7 separate regions of the Homo sapiens genome follow, and all the other regions are linked to region 5. Evidence: promoter capture Hi-C in 16 types of primary human blood cells and fetal thymus (Javierre and others, 2016). All regions are on one chromosome and are shown on one strand. Each heading gives the region's core, a stretch centred on a gene start or on the middle of the fragment in contact. The rest is flanking DNA. Distances are from core to core; before and after follow the strand shown. Region 1 has its middle 240 kb from the start of MIR3688-1. Region 2 has its middle 300 kb from the start of MIR3688-1. Region 3 has its middle 310 kb from the start of MIR3688-1. Region 4 has its middle 260 kb from the start of MIR3688-1. Region 5 holds the start of PPID (peptidylprolyl isomerase D). Region 6 has its middle 280 kb from the start of MIR3688-1. Region 7 has its middle 310 kb from the start of LINC02233.

Evidence for each region. The method cuts DNA at HindIII sites, captures the fragments that hold promoters and counts their contacts. A CHiCAGO score of 5 or more calls a contact.
Region 1: a contact is called between a fragment that was not itself captured here and the fragment with the promoter of PPID in region 5, in 5 of 17 cell types (erythroblasts, endothelial precursors, megakaryocytes and 2 more). The highest score is 9.6, in erythroblasts.
Region 2: a fragment that was not itself captured here is called in contact with the fragment with the promoter of PPID in region 5 in 5 of 17 cell types (endothelial precursors, M2 macrophages, megakaryocytes and 2 more); the score reaches 8.9 in endothelial precursors.
Region 3: a contact is called between a fragment that was not itself captured here and the fragment with the promoter of PPID in region 5, in 3 of 17 cell types (megakaryocytes, erythroblasts and endothelial precursors). The highest score is 9.0, in megakaryocytes.
Region 4: a fragment that was not itself captured here is called in contact with the fragment with the promoter of PPID in region 5 in 5 of 17 cell types (endothelial precursors, megakaryocytes, erythroblasts and 2 more); the score reaches 14.3 in endothelial precursors.
Region 6: a contact is called between a fragment that was not itself captured here and the fragment with the promoter of PPID in region 5, in 3 of 17 cell types (endothelial precursors, megakaryocytes and M2 macrophages). The highest score is 8.7, in endothelial precursors.
Region 7: a fragment that was not itself captured here is called in contact with the fragment with the promoter of PPID in region 5 in 3 of 17 cell types (endothelial precursors, megakaryocytes and erythroblasts); the score reaches 12.6 in endothelial precursors.

The regions. Positions count from the first base shown.
Region 1 is chr4:159,362,896-159,366,205 of GRCh38, reverse strand. No RefSeq gene overlaps it. Among named protein-coding and RNA genes, the nearest start is that of MIR3688-1, 240 kb to the right of the region's middle. The HindIII fragment of the contact is 1,078 bases long and covers 1,397-2,474 here.
Region 2 is chr4:159,424,860-159,427,771 of GRCh38, reverse strand. No RefSeq gene overlaps it. Among named protein-coding and RNA genes, the nearest start is that of MIR3688-1, 300 kb to the right of the region's middle. The HindIII fragment of the contact is 6,952 bases long and covers 1-2,912 here.
Region 3 is chr4:159,441,818-159,444,922 of GRCh38, reverse strand. No RefSeq gene overlaps it. Among named protein-coding and RNA genes, the nearest start is that of MIR3688-1, 310 kb to the right of the region's middle. The HindIII fragment of the contact is 1,364 bases long and covers 610-1,973 here.
Region 4 is chr4:159,383,624-159,386,541 of GRCh38, reverse strand. No RefSeq gene overlaps it. Among named protein-coding and RNA genes, the nearest start is that of MIR3688-1, 260 kb to the right of the region's middle. RefSeq lists enhancers at 2,292-2,865, 2,866-2,918. The HindIII fragment of the contact is 1,455 bases long and covers 754-2,208 here.
Region 5 is chr4:158,722,129-158,725,001 of GRCh38, reverse strand. PPID (peptidylprolyl isomerase D) reads left to right here and starts at 1,606. Exons shown (of 10, transcript NM_005038.3): 1 at 1,606-1,798. The coding sequence starts at 1,714. RefSeq lists enhancers at 1,028-1,612, 1,500-1,979, 1,613-2,196. The HindIII fragment of the contact is 3,604 bases long and covers 151-2,873 here.
Region 6 is chr4:159,405,142-159,408,042 of GRCh38, reverse strand. No RefSeq gene overlaps it. Among named protein-coding and RNA genes, the nearest start is that of MIR3688-1, 280 kb to the right of the region's middle. The HindIII fragment of the contact is 6,655 bases long and covers 1-2,901 here.
Region 7 is chr4:159,463,069-159,465,897 of GRCh38, reverse strand. No RefSeq gene overlaps it. Among named protein-coding and RNA genes, the nearest start is that of LINC02233, 310 kb to the left of the region's middle. The HindIII fragment of the contact is 1,113 bases long and covers 828-1,940 here.

The DNA.
Region 1 (3,310 bases), core at 686-3,185, 640 kb before region 5:
TTTTCATTATTTATTTATTTATTTATTTAGAGACAGAGTCTTGCTCTGTTGCCCAGGCTGGAGTGCAGTGGTGCGATCTTGGCTCACTACAACCTCCACCTCCCGGGTTTAAATGATTCTTGTGCCTCAGCCTCCCAAGTAGCTGGGATTACAGGTGCACGCCACCACGCATGGCTAATTTTTGTTATTTTTAGTAGAGATGGGGTTTCACTAGGTTGGCCAGGCTGGTCTGGAATTCCTGACCTCAAGTGATCCTCCTGCCTCAGCCTCCCAAAGTGCTGGGATTAGAGGCATGAACCACTGTGCCCAGCCTCCTTGGTTATATTATGATGGAGCAATAATCTATAGTGAACAACTTCTGCTCCTGCCTCACGGGTCAGTGAGGGGTCTGCCGGGGAGGGGCACAGTGGAATACCAGGTGAGCAGTCTCTCCTCTCCTCAGGAAAGTAAATGGAAGAAAGGACACAAGTACCACAGTTCGCCCATGAGTAGGCTGGTGGTTTTCATTCTACTGGTCCTCCAGCTTTTTGAGGTGAATTTTTGAAATTATGTATTCCACATTGTCAGTGTCCTTCTCTGGGCCTAGTTTTGCATGTGAGCAAATAATTTTAATTTTGCAGGGGTGCTAGAAATAGCTTGGTTAGACGTAGTGCCTGCGCTCAATGATTCACAACCTTTACAATGACACAAAAGAATGAATCAGATGGCCGGGCGCGGCGGCTCACGCCTGTAATCCCAGCACTTTGGAAGGCTGAGGCGGGCGGATCACGAAGTCAAGAGATCGAGACCATCTTGGTCAGCCTGGGGAAACCGCGTCTCTACTAAAAATACAAAAATTAGCTGGGCGTGGTGGCACGTGCCTGTAGTCCCAGCTGCTCAGGAGGCTGAGGCAGGAGAATCACTTGAACCCGGGAGGCAGAGGTTGCAGTGAGCCAAGATCACACTCCAGCCTGGGCGACAGAGCAATACTCGGTCTCAAAAAAAAAAAAAAAAAATCAGATGTTTTGGAAAATGCAGTGAATAAACTGTGTGGACTCACCAGTACTGTAATTGTACCTGAAGAGGGTAGAATGCCCCCTTCCTCAACCACATCCAGAGCCTTACCTTATGGATGTATTAACAGAAGGTACAACGGAAACAGTGTGGAACTTTGAATCCCGTGGACAAGAATTTTTTTGACTCAGTTTTAAAAATTAACATTTTCTGCAACTTCCTTATCTTTGTCAATGTTAATTTTTTTTTTTTTTCCCCTGAGATGAGTTCTTACTCTCTTACCCAGGCTAAAGTGCAGTGGTACGATCATAGCTCACTTGCAGCCTGGAACTGCTGGGCTCAGGTGATCCTACTACCTCAGCCTCCCAAGTTGCTGGGACATATTGGCACATGCTACCAAGCTTGAATAATTTTTTTTTTTTTAAGACAGGGTCTCCCTGTGTTGCCCAGGCTGGTCTTGAATTCCTGGGCTCAAGCGATCCTCCCACCTTGGCTTCCCAGTGTTGGGATTACAGGTATGAGCCACTGTACCCAGCCTATTCTCTTTATCTTAAGCATTCAGAATAAGAATCTTGAACATTTTACAAATTTTGGCTTAACTTTTAAGTAAGTCTCTTATATGCTATTAGACACCAAATTCTATTGATTTTTTTCCTTTGAATTGCCTTTGAAACCATACTTTCCAGGGCTTTGCTGGCTCAGGCCTGGATGATAGCAGGTTTCCCAGCTAGCTACCTTCCCTGCCTCACCCTCCATCCTGCCTGGTCCTGACTAATCAAGTCATCCTTTCCTACCATTGTCTCATCAAAAGATTCTGTCAGTTCTTTCTCCTTTCCTTCCTTGTTTCTTTTTATAAGCATTTACTGATCCCCTAAAATGAACAATCTCTAAACATTTTTTGTCCTGATCTCACTCCCTACTTATCCCAACCAATTTCTCTGCATCTTCTATTCATAATGTCCCATCTAATGAGGCATGACTCCTGTGTCCCACAGCCATGCCAATAGCCCTGCCTCTTGCCTTCATTCTTGTCTTCAGATGATACTTGAAGCTATAGCTGAAGTCTCGTCTCTTCTTATGGACACTTCAGTCTTCATTGACCTTTCACTCCACTGAACTTCTGTAGTCACACAAAACTGAACTCTTTAAACAGTCTTTTATCCTTTGCTCCTTTTGATTAATCTGAAACCCTTGCTAGCCTTGTTACGAGTCATTTATTTCACTTCTGAATATTCACCAGTCTGAGCAGTTATAGATGCCCCTTCACACATGCATTTTGTCTGATTTTTGAGTCTCCAATTTACCTGTGTAATTGAGGTCCTTTAGGTTGCTTGATATGATATTCATTTATTAAACACTTTGGCATTATCCCAGGCACTGTTTCTAGATGCTGAGAACAGAATGGTTATTCAGAGAGGATACACAAAAAACAGCTCTCCATGCTGGTCTCATGAAGAACAAGAACATTTCAGAGCCAAGCTTCAGGGAGTTGTTCTAAGACTGGACATTGTATTCAGGTGTGATGATGACAGATCATTTTATTGTTCCCTAAGAAGTGTCTTAAGTTTTTAACAGGATTCCTGCCTTTGATGAATTGCTTTCTTGACCTCATGGGCCCCTTCTTGCTCATGATTTCTGCATCCTCATTGCTTCTGTTAGTCACGGCTTCTGAATACTCACTTCTTTGGTGCGTCCTTTTTTTTTGCCTTTTCATAGAAATTCCCCAAAGAGAATGTGCTAAGGTTGTTAGTTGTTGCTTTCCTTCTTACTGGCTGGTCACGGCACTCATTCCAGGGCCCTCTTACAGACTGCTGGTGAGCCCACATTGGCAACTCTTGGATCAGACACCTCCTTCAATCCAGCTGTGATCAAGATGGTGGGATCACTCCGTAGGTTTTTCCATGTAGGGCCTGAGACACTTCTCTAAAGTAAGAAAGTATAACTCGAAGGTGCCTCGGTTCACTTTAGTAAAATCTGTAAATATCTAGCATCTAGAAAAGTGCTTGGACCACAGTAAATTAGCTCACTAAACTGTATCTAGAAGCATTGTACATATACATATTTTCATCTTAATACCAAATGTGACACTCACCTGATCCTAAAACCAATTTTGTAGTCCTATTTGGGGAAAAAGGTTTCAATCTATATAAATTAAAGAAAACCTCACGTATGTTGAGATACTATTACTTCATTGGTCCCCATTTGACCACAGTGCATTTGGCAAGGTCATACAATATTATTAAAATGTTTCTTTTCTGAGACAGAGTCTTGTCCTGTTGCCCAGGCTGGAGTGCAGTGGCATCATCATAGATCACTG
Region 2 (2,912 bases), core at 383-2,882, 700 kb before region 5:
AGCTTTGCCATCCACAGACGGCTTGAGTGTTAATCAGCTCAATGCACCCTCTGCCTTTTCACAAGGGTAGAAGTCCAGTGTGACAGCTTTCTGTATCCCAAGTTCTTGCCCAGCATTCCCAAAAAATCAGGTCACACAAGGGCTTGAAGGATGAATGTGAGGTGAAGGTCACTTTCAGCAGGGTGCATGGGGACCCCGAAGGTGGGGGTGGAGTAGGAAGGTGATCTTCCCCTGGAGTCAGGCTGCCCAGCAGCCGGACTCCTCTCCAACCACCTCTATCTGAACTCCTCTAGGTGTTCAGCTGTTTCTCCTCTTCTCTCTTTCTCTGCCATGCTGTTCTACCATTCGTCTGCTGGTCTGCTGGCTTGCTTGTCTGCTTCTGGAACCTGGGGTTCAGGATTTATATGGGTGGAGGATAGAGGATGTGGTGAGCCACAGGGCAACTTTTTGGGTGTGAAAAACAGGAATGCCTGTCCTCATTTAGAGCTGGGGGTCTTCAGGTGTGATGGTGGGGCCTTTGCCACAGAACCACCCTCTTCCACCCAGTATTTCCCTGTCGCCTATCTGCATCATCTCTACTAAAAAAATAAAAATTAAAAAAAATAAAAAATTAGCCAAGTGTGGTAGTGCATGCCTATAGTCCCAGCTATTCAGGAGGCTGAGCCAGGAGAATTGTTTGAACCTGAGAGTTAGAGGATGCAGTGAGTTGAGATCATGCCACTGCACTCCAGCCTGGGAGACAGAGCAAGTTTCCACCTCAAAAAAAAAAAAAAAGAGTCTAATGGGCCTACAGGTGTCTTATGCAAATGTCTATCAATCAACTAACAATTACATAATTGTTGATCACTGTGTGCCCAAAAGGAATGACTCAGTAGGTTTGGGGTGTGACCCTGAAATCTGCCTTTCTTAAATGATTTGCAGGTGATGATACTGCACTGACAAATTTGGGAACAACTGTTCTAGGTATGGTACTTAAGAACTCAAACCAAATGCTTTGGGACCACCAACAAAATAAGGAAATCAGTTAAGGCTTCAAAGAAGTGATGGTGTTTAAGCTGGTGATTTGAAAGCCTTCTAACCAGGTTGGAGAGAGAAAAGGCAATTCTAGAATGAATGGAAAATGTATGTTTATAGCTCTGTCCCTATAACAAAAAATAAATAAAACATTAATAAAATAAAAATCTTTAGAAAAAAAAGAATGAGGTTAAAAGAAGAAAAGCAAATACGTCAGTCTTAAGTGCTCGATATGATTTCTGTGAATGAGCATGTCAGTGTGACTTTATGATACCTGCCGCCATAGAGACAGTATCATCAAAGACAGCCACCCCAGAAGGTGAACCGAGTAGTTCAATATAAGTTTGAAAAACAGTTAGGAGCCCGGGTGCAGTGGCAATAGAGCCTCTACCATGCAATACAGAAGCTGTCCTCACTGTGCTTTGTCCAAATTCCTGGTTCACAAAGTCTATGAGCACAATGAAATAATCATGCCGCTAAACTTTGAGATGGTTGGTTAGGCAGCCATAGATAACTGGAATACTTCTCTATGTTTCCCTAGTCTCTTGAATCCTCCTACTAACACTCCTACACCTCCCCCCCAACCCCTCACAGAACTTTTCTCATTCTCAGGAAATAGCTTTATTTTCTACTTTAGGTAAATATAAAAGAAGCAAATTAGAAGCCTCCCATCTACTTCTACCAAACATATAACATTACCTGCAGCTGTAGCCGTACTTTTCCTATTATAACAGAAATCTCCTTCCTAAAGTAATCTGAGAGGCCTGTGGGAGGGTAGAGCGATAGGGATTCAAAGCACTCCCCTCTCAGAAAACTTGCTGTATCATGAAGTCAACATTTCCCTCCTGACTGGTTCCTTCCCATTCACATTTAAACATATGCAAAGAAAAAAATGAATAAACAAACCACTATGGACCTTGTCAGGCCTCTGAGCCCAAGCCAAGCCATCGCATCCCCTGTGACTTTCATGTATATGTCCAGATGGCCTGAAGTAACTGAAGAATCACAAAAGAAGTGAAAATGACCTGCCCCGCCTTAACTGATAACATTCCACCGCAAAAGAAGTGAAAATGGCCATTCCTTGCTTTAAGTGATGACATTACCTTGTGAAAGTCCTTTTCCTGGCTCATCCTGGCTCAAAAAGCTCCCCCACTGAGCACCTTGCAACCCCCACTCCTGCCCGCCAGAGAACAAACCCCCTTTGACTGTAATTTTCCTTTACCTACCTAAATCTTATAAAACGGCCCCACCCCTATCTCCCTTTGCTGACTCTCTTTTCAGACTCAGCCTGCCTGCACCCAGGTGAAATAAACAGCCATGTTGCTCACACAAAGCCTGTTTGGTAGTCTCTTCACACGGACGTACATGAAAGACCTCACATCTCCCTTCTAGCTTCTGGCCTACCTCTTCTTCCTTCACAGAGCTATATATTCCAACCATTCCCCTTTCATCCTCTCTCACTCACTTTTCAGGTATCTCTTATCTGGTTTCCACCCATCATTTCATATAAATAACTCTCACTAATGTCACACAAGACCTCCACTTCACCAAATGCTTTCAGTATTTTAAACCCCTTGCTTGATATCTTCAGTGCATCCAACACTGTCGGGCATTCCCACTGTCTCCTGCTCTGGGTTTTCCTCCTACTCCTCCGGCTGCTCCTTCTCAGTCATACTTTCTACTAAACAATTAAATTCCAGAGTTCCTCTCTTGGCCTCTCTCCTTCTCACTATATACTTTTTTTCCTAGGAAATCTCATTCATATCCTTGGTTTAATTACCATATAAAATCATAAATTTACATCTCTGGCCCAGATCTCTACTGTAAGGTATAAGTCAATATGTCCAACTGGCCAGGTGCAGTGGCTCACGCCTGTAATCCCACCACTTTCAGAGGCC
Region 3 (3,105 bases), core at 42-2,541, 720 kb before region 5:
TTCCCATTAGTCAGAGGTTCACCACCAGGATGTTAATTTCACCATCACTTCCCACTTGCACATGCACCTCTAGGAGGCAGAAGTGACTGGACAAGGATGGTTAGTTAGTGTGGTTTTAATGGGCCTTGAATGATGGCTGGTGGATTTGGGGATTGATTCTGCAAGCACTGAAGAATTACAGAGATTTTTGAAAAGGAAAGTGACATGATCAAAAGGGAAGATTTCCCTAGTTGTATGATCTCTTTATAGAATCTTCATCATCTACTGAAGTGAAATATTTGTGGAAGTTTCCTTTTTATCCCTTGAGAAATTGGCATGGTAGGGATGAATGCCCATTCTCACTTCCAGAAGAGGCAGCATCAAGCAGGACCCATGGAAGATAGTAAGATTGGGTTGGCCAAAAACTAACTTGGCCAATGGATGGGACTTAACTGGAAAGTTTAATTCAAATTGAGAGAACTCCAGAAAGCAACAGAATAATATTTTGGTCTCCCTTGAGGATTTGGGAGTTATGGATTCGGAGGTTCTGCCTTCCCTCCCACCATCTTATCCACACAGGCACCTGGGCAAGGTAAGAGCCTGGCACTGCCAAGCCAGATGGTGGAAGCTTTTGCTGCCAGCATCCTCCAGTGGGATGGGGCAGACTGTGTTCCCTGCCGGCTGGTTTCTGAGTGCTTTCAGTATACAGCAAAATCAGGGTGGATAGTATAAGCAATCTTTCATTCGTATAGCTGTTTATAATATAAACCACTTGTCTAAATATTTACACATTTAATCTCCACAACTTTCAAAACCATTCTGATTCTCCCTCCTTACAGTTCTCTTCTACCCTCAACCAGAGCCATTCGTGAACTATTTATCCTCTCTGTGGCTTAAATGAAAAAAAAACTGGAAAATGCAACAATTCTACCAAATGATAGTCCTCACCTCAGGCTTTGGGGAAGTTATAAATGAGATAGTGTATAAAAGGTGCTTAGCACAATGCCTGGCACAATGAAGGCCCTTAACAAATATTAGCTGCTATTTTCATTATCATTGTTTTTGCTATAGAGTATCACAATATTTTTATTAGTACTATTATCATCATCATCTGGCATTTGGTTCCATTATGAACCTTCTAGAACTAACCCTAAATTATTAGGAGATAGTATAAAATGCCTAGCTTAACACCGAGCATAGAGTGTCACTCAATAAACACTAAAGATGTTACCTGCAGTTTCCCAAGGGAGGAGGGGTACAAAGTCACCGCCTCTAGCACTCAGGGATAAGTAATTCCAGATGCCAGCTCTGAGATCTTTTCCTAGTCACTGGAATTCTTACATGATCCTATGATGATGGTTGTTTAATGGTCAAAAGCACAGACTGTAGAACCAGACATCCTGAGTTCAAATCCTACTCTACCTTGGGTAGTTTACTTAACCTCTAAGTGTCTCAATTTTATATTTAAAATAAAGAAGTCAATTGTACTTACCCCATGGAGTTTTATAAAAATTAAGTGAGTTAATAAACATAAAAGAGCTTGGGAAAATACCTGGCACATAGTAAATAGCATATAAAAATTAGCTAGTAGTGCCTTTCTTTATTCCCTTCTGCCTGTGGGCTCACCTCATATTCTCATCCAAATTCTCCTCTCCTGCATCCTAAACACACACACACACACACACACACACACACACACACACACGGTCCCAGTGTCTGAGCCCCTGATCTGCTGATGGTTCCCAGTTGTAATAGTCTATACTAACACTAAGATACCCCATTATTATTGCAGAAATTCAACCACAAATGGTATGATGAGGTTGGAGTAATGCCAAAACTATCCTCAGGCTTCTGACACAAAGCCACAAAGAGCGACAGTACCTTAGTACATTAACAAAAATACAGAGTTCACTCTTACAAAGACCTACAAGTTTGACTTTCCCAAGTCTCATGATTGGCCAAGTTCAAAGATACCAACTGATAGTAACAAAGCTTTCAAAATCCTCATGTGTAAGCCAGCGTGTCAATTTATAAACTTTCAGCAAGAAATATATTTAGTTAGGGGTTTAGCACTTCATATTATCTAGCCAGCATATTTTGTTCCTATAGCCAAACTTCTCAGGTTACCAGGTCTCACTGGTTTACATGTGAGTTAGTTAACAGATCTAAATGTTAAACTATCAGGCTCTCAAAACATGATGCAATCCTCTCAAGAAAAGGTATATTATCTGCTCAAAGAACTGACAAGTCATTGGGTCAAGATGTTCTCTACCCAGAGTGCACCTATGTGGTCGTTGCCAACATTTGCCCCTAAAACAGGCTGATCTGTTTTTGTTTTTGATGTTTCTATGGATGACCAATTTCTCCCACTTCATTAATTAACATAGTATTTTGTAGGGGAAAGAAAAGAAATATGCCAATAATTTTAGTCAAGACTTGATCTGGACTATAAGATTATATTATGTATATTTATGCTGATGATTCTTGAATAGTTATGTATTTAATTCTTTCAGAGTAGTCTTATTGTCCTTAGTTCTATATTCTTGAAGGACATTATGTTATACCCCTAGGAAGTACCTACATTCTCTTTTGGACTTAATGATGATAGCTGGGCCCCTGGACTAAATATTTATTATAGATTCTATATGATACCGTGCTTGACCAATCAAGCTGTACATGTGCCTATCTGTCTAGTTCCATTCCTGTGCCTTCCCAGTACAATCTACATCCTAAACTCTGTTTCTACTTTCAGATCTTACACACCTTTATTAACGAATATGGCACTTCTGGCCAGGCGTGGTGGCTCATGCCTGTAATCCCAGCACTTTGGGAGGCTGAGGCGGGCAGATCACTTGAGGTCAGGAGTTTGAGACCAGTCTGGCCAACATGGTGAAACCCAGTCTCCACTAAAAGTACAAAAATTGGCAGAGCATGGTGGCAAGTGCCTGTAATCCCAGCTACTCGTGAGGCTGAGGCAGGAGAATTGCTTGAACCTGGGAGGCAGAGGTTGCAGTGAACCAAGATCATGCCCTCACACTCCAGCCTGGACAAAGTAAGACTCCATCTCAAAAAAAAAAAAAAAGGCACTTCCGCTGTGTTATGGGATGAATTGCATCTCCTCACTCC
Region 4 (2,918 bases), core at 232-2,731, 660 kb before region 5:
TTTTAGAACTCTGATACCAAGAATGTTAAATCTTTATAGTCCCATAATTCCCTGAGGTTTGTTCTTTTTTTTTGTTTGTTTGTTTTTCAATCTTTTTCTCTCTGTTCTTCAGATTGGGTAATTTCTATTGTCCTATCTTCAAGTTCATTATTTCTTTCCTCTGTCCCCTCTATACTGTTTTGAGTCCATTCACTGAATTTTAGCTATTATATTTTTCAGTTCTAAACTTTTCATTTATCTTTTTGTATATCTTTTATTTCTTTGCTGATATAATACTGTCTATTTTTTATTTGTTTCAAGCATGTTTATAATGCTTACTGAAACATATGATGATTTCCTTGAGACCTTTATCAGATAATTCTAACATTGCTGTCGTTTCAGTGTTAGGATCTATTTATTATCTTTTTTTCATTCAGTTTGAGGTCTTCTTTATTCTTGGTATGAGTGATTTTTCTATTAAAACCTAGATATTTGTGTATTATATTGAGGTTTGGGATCTTATTTAAATTTCTTGCAAAGGAAAATGGGAGTGGGGAGTGAGCTGCCTGATTACTGCCAGATGAGGTCAAGTTTCAGGTTCCCACCTGGCTCCCACTGAGACCTGAGGGGAGGGGCTACTCATGACTGTTAGGTGAGAGTGGAAGTCCTGCTTCGCATTCAGCCTCTACTCCTGGCTGGGAGGGGTAGAAGAACCTTATTACTGCTCCCCTCTTGGCCTGACATTATGTTGGAGAAGTGGCTTAGGTGAAAGCTTTGTCTCCAGTAGGTCTCCTTTGAGGCCACCCTAGAAGGAAGGGGCAAAGGCATCTCATTACCACTGGATAGGTGTGGAAATCCATGTGGTATCCACTGACACTGCATGAGAGGGATGAAAGTTCCATCTCCCTACTCAGTTTTCTCTGACACTTGTCCAGTGAGAGAGTGGGAGGTGGAGGCTGGTGCTACTGCCATTACATCCTGGGGACAGTGCAAGTCTGCTTCCTCTTGAGCTTTCACTGGGAGTGGGGCTAACATTTTTTCTGTGGTGTTTGGCTGGAGTGGAGCAGTTATTGTCCAATCTTTGTCTCATATATGTATTTTTATGTGTGTGTGTGTGTGTGTGTGTGTGTGTGTGTGTGTGTACATATATTTTTTTTAAATAGAGATGGTGTCTTGCTATGTTGCCCAGCAGGCTGGTCTTGAACTCCTGAGCTCGAGCTATCCACCCACCTTGGCCTCCCAAAGTTCTGGGATTACAAGCGTGAGCCACTGCGCCCAGCCTGTCTAATCATTATCTGTCTCATTAGCTACCCATCTCTTGTTCTTTCAGCTGGAGAGGGCAGGCTTTTGGTAATTTTTGTTTTGTTTTGTTTTGTTTGGCGTGCATTCATTGGTATTTCGGGGTTACGAGTTTCTTTATCTATGAGTCTGGGATATGTGAGTTAAAAAGAAAACCCAGGGAACACACTGCCTCTGGTCCTGTGGTCTCCAGCCAGTCAGCCTTCTCCACCTTTCAGAGTCATCATATGCTTGTTTAATATGTAAAGTCTAGGGTTTGTAGTTGTACTTTGTGAAAGCAATAGGGAATAGTACATTCATTCAATGGATAAGGCATTGGCCTCCTTAAGGGTTGGGCTTTGGGAATAGTATATTCATTCTATCTTCCAGAAGTGGATTTTTTTTTTTTAAAGAAACTGCAGTAAGCTATTATACACACAAGAGGTCTCTTCTGACATACACTTTTGTTTTTTACTCAAGAAAGGCTAATTTTTAGCATTCTCAAACATAATTCTGAAGGATTAATTTGTCATTTTATTTTAAATTCTTAAATATCCAAATTTTCTTCCTTCTCATCTTGAAAAAAATCAGCTTTATCTCATCATTTTCTCAGGTTTATGTTATTCAATAGGGGAGACTATGAGCCTGACAAAACTGTGACATCATTATTATGTATCCACATTAATCAGTGTATTTTTGACACACTGCATTCATTAAAGTCTTTGAAGGAAACATATCACTGCCTTCAAAGATATTACATTCTAAAAATACAAAGTAAAATGTAAAGTAAGATTTCAGAATTTCGAAATTAGGCCGTTTTAGTTAGGAAGAATAAGTTCTAGTGATCTATTGCATATCAAAGTGGCTACAGTTAACAATAATGTATTGTATATTTTAAAATTGCCAAAAGAGTAGTTTATAAATGTTTGCCCTGCAGAGAAATGATAAGCTTGTGAGGTGATGAATATGTTAATTAGCCTGGTCTGCTCATTCCACAATGCACACATACATTAAGACATCATTGTACCACATAAATATTATGCAATTATTATTGTCAATTTAAAATTAATAATTAAAAATTAAAAAAAAATTGAAATTGGTTTATTCACATATCTTTCACACACAAAGAAGCATTCATTGAAAACCTACATTGTTCCCACATCATGAAGATAAATGCAATTTACAATAAACAATCTTTCCCATTTTAATCAATATTTGTAGCTGGAGTGAGACAAGAGATGTTCTAATTCTTGAATCTCTAAACTTGTGTTTATCAAATGTAAACACAAAAGTGAGTTAAATATTGCAACAGGAAATTGGGGCTATCCTAGTTGATTGTCAGCTCCTACTGAGCAGGCAGTGTTGCCTGCTCATAACCCCTCACCCTCATTCCTTCATCTCCTCTCAGGATAGAATGATCAATCTTTTCAAGTGTCACCACAGAAATTTAAATTGGAACGCTTAGTGCCTTTGGAAATGTAGATTACCATTCCAGTTCAAGTGTAGGTGAAGGTCATAAGCTGCTTCTCTAACTCCACTCTCTATAAGCCTTTGGCCATCTAATAATTTAAAACCAATTTCTTTCCATTCAGATGGAGAGGCATTCCCACGACCTCTAACCAGCAAGCAGGATTTTACTACTAAATCACTTCTGCATTTAA
Region 5 (2,873 bases), core at 357-2,856:
TACAAGGCAAATGCTTACACATTATCTTTTTCCATTCTCATACCCTGTTCTTTGGCACTTTACCGAAAAGGAAATGAGAAGGGTTCAGAGAAATTAAATGACTTTTCTTTGGTAACATGCCTAGTATACATGTAGTCAGAACTTGAAGCTTTTGCTTTTTTTTTTTTCTTTTTTAACATCAACTTTCGTGCTTAGTCCAGTGTATAACATCACAGGCAAATTCAAATTGAGAATAGGAATCAGTTGTTCTTTAACCGTAACCCTTCTAACTTTTACTTATCCTAAGACCGGGTAGCAAGTAGGGCAGGAGCCTTCATCTAGAGGGATGGTGACAGCTCTGATAGGGGAAAATTAGCACTGGTCTTTCCTTCCAAAAAGCCACTCTGGCTGCTGCTGTTGACACAAGGCTCCTGGCTTTTGAGACATTATTTGAGTGCTGGATTCCAATACTTTTTACTTTCTCATAAGAAAAAAAAATGTGAAGCATCTAAGGATATCTCCTGCCTTATTGATAAAGTAAGCCTCAGGCTGAATCCAAATTGCTGAGCTCCAATAGAACTACAGGGCAAAGCATCTACACAGGGAATTGCCACTCTTCTCCAAAATTAGGCTTTATTAAGAGGCAAGGCTATGTTCTCCTCATATATATGTGTGTGTGTGTGTGTGTGTGTGTGTGTGTGTGTGTGTGTAAAAAGTAAATGTTTTACACAGATCCCCATAAGGGAAAAGTGGGCTATAGTAATACAGTATTTTTTTGTTTTTCTTTTTTTTGGGGGGGGGGGGGACAGTTTCGCTCTGTCACCCAGTCTGGAGTACAGTGGCGCGATCTCGGTTCACTGCAACCGCCGCCTCCCGGGTTCAAGCGATTCTCCTGCCTCAGCCTCCCGAGTAGCTGGGACTACAGGCAAGCACCACCACGCCCGGGTGATTTTTTTTTTTTTTATTTTTAGTAGAGACGGGTTTCATCATGTTGGTCAGGCTGGTCTCGAACTCCTGACCTCAAATGATCCGCCCGCCTCGGCCTCCCAATGTGCTGGGACTACAGGCGTGAGCCACCGCGCCCCGCCAAATACAGTTTTATCAGGAATCAAAACTGTGCTCTCTTCTGGACTCTCAGCTTTAGCTGTTTGGAGCGTTTAGTCTAAGCCTTACCACTTACATTGTAATGTGAAGATCAAATTGTAACGACATGGCAATAATAAGGCTCCTATTGGTTGGGTACCACCAGTTTATGCCAGGCATTGTACTGATTCATGTCTTTAATCCTCAAAACGACCTTCCGAGGTCAGCGTTTTTATTCTTTTTCCAGAGGAGCAAACTGAGTTTCTGAGAAGTCACACCCAACTTGGTGGCAGAGCTGACGCTGGCATGGGGTTGACTCCAAAGCTCTCTACGCCACGAGGGTGGGAAAGACAACGAAACACAAGCGAGAAGAATAATGAGAACTGGGATCGCAACTTCATTAAATGAGAAGCCAGGAACAGGTGGCGGAGGGCACGCGGTTCGCTGCACGGAGTCGCTCAGGCTCTTTGAAACACCGCGCGGGGGAGCGGGGCGGTGCCGGAAGTCAGGCCATGGCTTCCGGTTCTTGCGTCGGAAGTGGCCGGTCAGCGTCGCTGCCGGTCTCCGGCGGAGACGGACTCTGGAGTTTGGGCGGCCCGGGCGGCCACTAGGTACTCTGATATTCCGTACTAAACACGTCTGCAAGTCAAGATGTCGCACCCGTCCCCCCAAGCCAAGCCCTCCAACCCCAGTAACCCTCGAGTCTTCTTTGACGTGGACATCGGAGGGGAGCGAGGTGAGCGGAGTCTGACGCTCGCGGAAAAGCCCCGAGGAGGCGGGGGTTCCCGGGATTTGGGGGATTCCAAGGGCGGAATGCGGCTCCGGCCGGTGACTGCTCAGTTTCGCGGAGGGGATGGCTGCCTAGGCTGGTCCGCCGGAGCAGGCCCGGAGATCTAGGGCTAGATCGATCCAGCGCCCTTGTATCAATGCCATCGGTGGTGCGGAAGTTTCTGGAAATTTCTAGTTCGGGAATTGTGGCGTCCTTTAGGTTTGCCTCCTGATTTGGTGGCACTTCCACGCCACCTTTGCACTACCAAGTTAGCATGAAATATTTTATGTTTGCAATGGGACAGTTCGGAAAGCATATCCTGGGATATGCGTCTGCTGGGCCCCAGGAAACTATATTTGCCACATGAGATAATATATCAGCACGTGCTGTGTTATTTATACGTTAAAGGGACTTGTTTGCTCATTGCTTTTGCCTTATTACTGATTCTTAATTTAGAGGTCCGTTCAGATGAGCAAACATTTTCTCTTAATTTGCCATTGGGAAAATGCGCTCAACGTAGTGATGGTGTTGCCTAGGTTACATAGCCGCTCAGAAGTTCCTAAGGCCTGGTGAATTAGGGAGCGTGTTGCTTTGTAACTGGATTGGCCTTGTTCTGGAACACGTTGGAATTGCTGGCCAGGCAATGTGTTTGAATGCATGTACAGGACACACACACGTTTACACGTACATTCAGTTTGTTGCAACTAGCTAGGGCTAGGTTTAATCTCACCTGTCTTAGCTGCTATCTAGAGGAGGAATTTTTACAGCTTTTGCTTCAGAGGTTGCATGAGGCAGTTTGCTCAGAGCACAAAGGCTGCAGGTATACGTAACACGTGGCAAGTCCGCCCACCCAAAGACTGTTTAATTTTCTCCCGTTGGTTGCTTGGTGATTGGAAATTCTCAGTACCTCTTGAAGAAATTACTCAGGATTTAAAACTATTTGTATTTAATGATATCTCTTACATGGTGCTAATCTTTTGGCTACTATAATTGGTTATGATCCTTAGTGTAATGTTTCAAATCTGTTTATATACATACATGA
Region 6 (2,901 bases), core at 151-2,650, 680 kb before region 5:
TGGTTCATGTGATTAAGGGGCTGACAAGTTCCAAGACCTACACTCTGTAAGCTGCAGACGCAGAAGACCCATGGTGTGGTTCCAGTCTGATGGCCATAGCCTCAAGATCCAGGAAGAGCTGGTGTTTCAGTTCAAAGGAGAAAAAATATCAATGTCCTAGCTCAAAGGTAGTCAGGCAGGAGGAATCTCCTCCTACTCACAGGAGGGTCAGCCGTTTTGTTTTATTCAGGCCTTCAGCTGTTTGCAGGGACCCATATACATTATGGAGGACAATCTGCTTTACTCAGTCTATCAGTTTAAATGCTAACCTTGTCCAGAAATACCCTCACAGGCACAAACATTTGTCTGACCAAATGCTTACACACCCCATGGCCTAGTCAAGTTGACATTTAAAAATAATCATCACAAATCACCCTTTGTCAATTTGAACCCATAATCATCTCCTCAAACAATACTTAATCGTCAAGTAAGGGCAATAACAAGGCCATAATTTTTCCTAACATGGTATAACTATCCTACATCCAACCAAAACACACGAACCTCTTCTCCAGAACATGAGGTAAAGTCCTTGTGCGGTGTTTACTCTTTTCCTTGATATCCTGTAACTTAAATACTAGGATTTAGAATCAGCAATACTTAAATATTATGAGATAAAGTCAATACATCCTATGTTACATGGTAAGGGAATAAAACAAGTTATTTGCTTAATACACACACATACACACACACAAATATAAGGCAGAAATACTCATGACAATTACAGTCTCTATTTCTGTAACTGGTTATATGGTCATGGTTTTATAACTATCTTCTTCCACTAACCATTCTATATTCCCTTTACCTTCAGTAAGCACCTTAGCTAGTTGTAGTCCTTTACATGGTGGGGAGACCCAAACCTTCATTTCAGAAGGGTATAGTCTATGAGGCCTGCCTTGCAGGGGTTGTCATGGATTTCCATTGACCTTAATCATAGGATATGGTAATAGTAAGAGATGCCCTAAGGGACCACCTGTATTCCAGGCATATTCTTCCTTACCTCCACTGTGGAGTAGCAGTCAGATTTTCTCTTGGTAATCAGGAATCACCCTAGTCAATATCATAACTCCCTTCTTTGCCTGTCGACTCAGAGGCATGAGAAACCCAAAGTAGCCAGGCAGCTATCTTAACTCCCAGTTCAATGGAATCAATATATCTCCTGGTGGAAGCATTTCTCCCTTTGAAACTAAGACCTCTAGGCCAGTAGACCATAAGTTCTCAGGAATAGGAAGCAAAAATCTTGCTAGTCGGTTACTGAGAGTAATAGTGAATGGTACCACTCCCATTTCCACCCCTTGATTTCTGAACCCGTAAATTCTGCCCATGGGAGAAACAGCAACATATATTGGATGCTGATTCAGAGCACATACAGCCTTCTGGAGGGCACTTTGCCCAGCCCCGCAAGGTATTGTCACCTAGCGGGTCCTGAAACTGTGTCAGCTGAGTCTGCATAAGGCCATTTCACCGTTCTATCAAGCCAGCTGCCTCAGATGGTGGGAGATGTGGTAAAACCAGTGAATTCCATGAGCATGGGCCCATTGCCACACTTCATCTGCTGTGAAGTGAGTTCCTTGATTGGAAGCAATGCTATGTGCAATGCTGTTTTCCCAAATAGACATCGCCACCACAATAAACTAGAGATAAGTCACCATGGGATTCTGAGTAGGTCATGACATGATCTGATTACATGTCAGTAGATCAACCTGGCAGTTGTGTAGAGAATAGAATAGAGGGGAGTAAGAATAAAACTCAAGAGACTATTGCAGGAAACAGATGATGACTTGGGATAGGTTCTGGCGGGGGAGGTGAAAAGAAAGTTTTGTCTTTTTCTTTTATTTTAGAGATGGGGCCTTACTCTGTCACCTAGGTTGTAGTGCAGTGGTGCAATCCTAGTTCATTGTAGCCTTGAACTCCTGGGCTCAAGCAATTCTTCCACATCAGCCTCCCAAGTAGATAGGACTACAGGCATGTGTCACCATGCCTGGCTAATTTTTAAATATTTTGTAGAGATAGGGTCTTGCTACATGGCCCATGCTGTTTTCCAGCTTGTGCTGGGATTACAGGTGTGAGCCACTGTGCCCAGCAGAAAGGACATATTCTGAAGGTAGAGTCTATAAGAGGTGATGACGGGTTGCATGTGGATCATGAGAGAAAAGAAGATAGTTCATTCCAGGTTGTTGAAATTGTAGAACTAACATGGTGAATAGCGATGCCGTGTACTAATACATGAGCCACTGTAGGGGGAAGAGATTTGAGCAGTATAATGAAGAGTTTGGCGTTGGATATTTAATAATCAAGATCCCCATTTGAGTTAATTAGATTGATTTAATCATATCACAATGTACATATATATCAAAATATTATGTTGTACACTATATATATATATGTATATAGCTTTATTTGTCAATTATTTCTTAATAAAGCTGGGGGTTCCCATTAGAAATCAAGTCGATATGTAGAAAGAACAGTTGATTTATGCATTTAGAATTTCAGAGTGTCCTAGGTTGGGGAAGTAAATCTGAGAATTTTCAGCATATATATAGATCTTTTCAACCATAAAACTGTATGAGATCATCTAGGAGAAAATAAGTGTAGAAAAGAAAACAAGAGTCTAAAGACTGAGCCTGTGGGCATTCCAGCATTTGAAAGTGAGAAAGAGGAGGAGGAGTCAGCAAAAGAGGCTGAGAAGGAGCAACTAGGGAAGGAAAAAGAAAAGCGGGAAAATGGAGCCCTGGAAGCCAAGGGAACACAGTGTTCCAAAAGGGAATAAGCAGCTGGATCAAATGCTGCTAAAAGTTCAGTGAAGATGACTGAGAAATGAACATTAGAAGAATCTATGTAGGCCAAGCGCGGTGGCTCACGCCT
Region 7 (2,829 bases), core at 135-2,634, 740 kb before region 5:
GAAAGAAGGATTAGATAAATTAGAGAGTAAGGCCAGCAAGATGGCAGAATAGGAGGTCACCTGCTTGTATCCCTTCAGGACAAGAATTCTGCATCCATCCATAGACAAAAGTTTCTTTGTGGGAGCCTTGGGGTTCAGATAGGAGGCTGTGGAACCCCACTGAAGCCTAAGACCTGGGAGGGTGTTTTGAGAACGCAAACTCACACTCAGGTGGCAGACCTGCTGGTTATGCTCCCGGGTTCAAGCCCAGAAACCCCTGTTACCCAAAGTGTTTGGCTGTAGCCCCACCTGGCCTTCAGCTTTACCAAAACCATCTGCCAAGGAGTCTGTGAACAATCCCATGTTAGTATCTTGGCAGAGAGGCTCATCTGCTCACTGACATTGATCTTGGCAATGGACCTGAAAGTTGCCCTGTGGTTCAGCTTCTAGCCCTTCTCAGCTGTAGTCCCAGATTAGTACTGCTCACACAAGAACCTAGAGGAAGACTTGCCCATATGTCACAGCCTGGGAGTTACTCACCTGACTGAGACTCCCTGACAGGCTTGCCAGCCTCCATCCCACAGCAGATCCTGAAGGGGACCAGTCTCAGTTTTGCCCCCTCTTGCTGCAGTCAAGGGACTATCCCACCTAGGCAGGGAACTGCTGGTAGATGTGAGCCTGTCTGAGCCACTGAGGAAGGGTCACCATCTTCCATCCCACAGCAGATTCTGAAGGAGCCAAGTCTCAGCTTGAACCCCTCTTGCAGGCTGAAGATTGTCCTACCTGTTCAGGGAACTGCTGGCAGTGCACCTATCTGGGCCTTCGGGACAGTCGGGAGTTTCCAAGCTTGGCCAGCTTTCCCACACAGCCTAGGTACCCTACTTGGGTCTTCCACAAGTCTTCTGGACTGGGTCACCACTCCAACCTTGAAGCCCTTGTGAGACTCACAGCAAACCTGGTCTTCTGGTGCTCACTAAGGCTGAAATAGCTGTAGCAGTAATGAGCTTAGGGAACACAAATCAGCCTGCTTAGAACTTCTGGGCAGGCCTACTGAAGAAGGACAGGCACAAACAAAGCCAGACTGTGAAGACTGGAATAAATACTAATTATTCAATGCATAGACATCAGCACATGTCAACGAGAATCAAAAATAAGCAGGAAAATATGACCTTACCAAAGGGGAAAAATAAGGTAACAATGACTAACCCTAAAGGAATGGAGGTGTGTGATCTGTCAGACAAGAAAATTAAAATAGCTATATTTAAGGAAACTCAATGAACTATAAGGAAACACAGAGAAACAACTTAGAAATTTATCAGAGAAATTTAACAAAGATTGAAGTAATAAAAATCAAAATCAAACAGAAATCTCAGAGTTGAAAAATGCAACAAATGAAATGAAAAATGCAATAGAAAGCATCAGTAGAAGACTTGATCAAGCAGAAGAAAGACTCTATGAACTAGAAGTAAAACTTCTCAAGCTCCATCCAAAACCTACTGAGTCAAAAACTCTAGGGATACAGTCTAGCAACCTGTGTTTTAACAAGCCCTCCAAGTGATTCTGATACATGCTGAAATTTGAGAACCACTGAATGACATTATCTCTAACTCCCCTGACAGCTTTAAAATTCTACAGCATTATAATTATTATCATCATCATCAGTAATAGATATCAAGAGCTTTCTGTATCCCTCTCTGCTGTTCAAGGCACTTTCTATATAATAATCCATTTAGTTGTCACAATACCCTTAGATGTAAACTCTATTGTTATGACATCTTGGTTAACAAGGAAACTGAGACATGAAAGGGTCATGTAGCTGTAGTGGAAATGCACCACCAAATTCTCCTTCAAGAAATGACTTGTTCTTCCAGCTCTTTCCTTGGCTGCAGAGAACCACCTTGCTCAAGGGTATAGCCTTTCCAGGGAAGCCTTTATCAAGTAATAAGGCTTGATGTGAAGCTTTATTACTTGATAAAGTAATGAATCACAAAAGGGTTTAAAGGCCTAAACCATGGGACAGATCTGACAGGTGCATAAGCTCCAGAGTTCTCCATAGGATTGGCCAAGGCTTTGTCAGGCCTACATCACAGTTCAGTTTCACTCTCTTTACAATCTTGCTTCCTTCTCCTTCCTTTTATTTGTATTTATCCCTAACTATCCTGCACCAAACTACTCAGTGTCTGCTTCTGGAAAATCCATTTTACAACAGTAGCTGACTAAAAGTTAGAGGTCAGTAATTGGTAGAGCCAAGGTTCAAACCCTGGCAGATAGACTCTATACCTTAGGCTCTTAACTATTTATTACATTGTTCTAGATCCTATCATTTGTCCCCCACTTGGACTTGGAAATTAATGACACAAGCATTTGAACATGAGATCTTAGAAATAATTTAATTTTACAAATGAGAAAACTAAAGCTAGAAGAGATTTCCCCAGGTCGCCCCTGGTTTGTAAGCAAGCACTGACTTGGTCTGAGACGCTCTGACCCCTAGTGTTCTACTGTGTCAGTACTTCCCACCTTAAGGAAAACAGTCACATAGCAATGAGATAAGGTTTCTGAGGTAAATTATAATTTTACTGGGGAACACTTGACACAAAGCCCAGCTTCAAACAATCTATTTCTAAATCTAGAAAGAGCAATAATTGGTACTATGTTTAGCAGAGAGGCTATGGAGCAGATGAAAAAGGAAAGCAAAAATTTTCATCATAAAAATTAAACAAGCACTTCCCAAAGAACATAAGGGCCTTTCCAAATCCTTGCAACACTTTTATTATGAAAGGTCAGAAATAACAGCTTCACAAAGTTTCCTGAAAGGTGGTAAACCTAGACTCCACCTCCCTGACATGATTA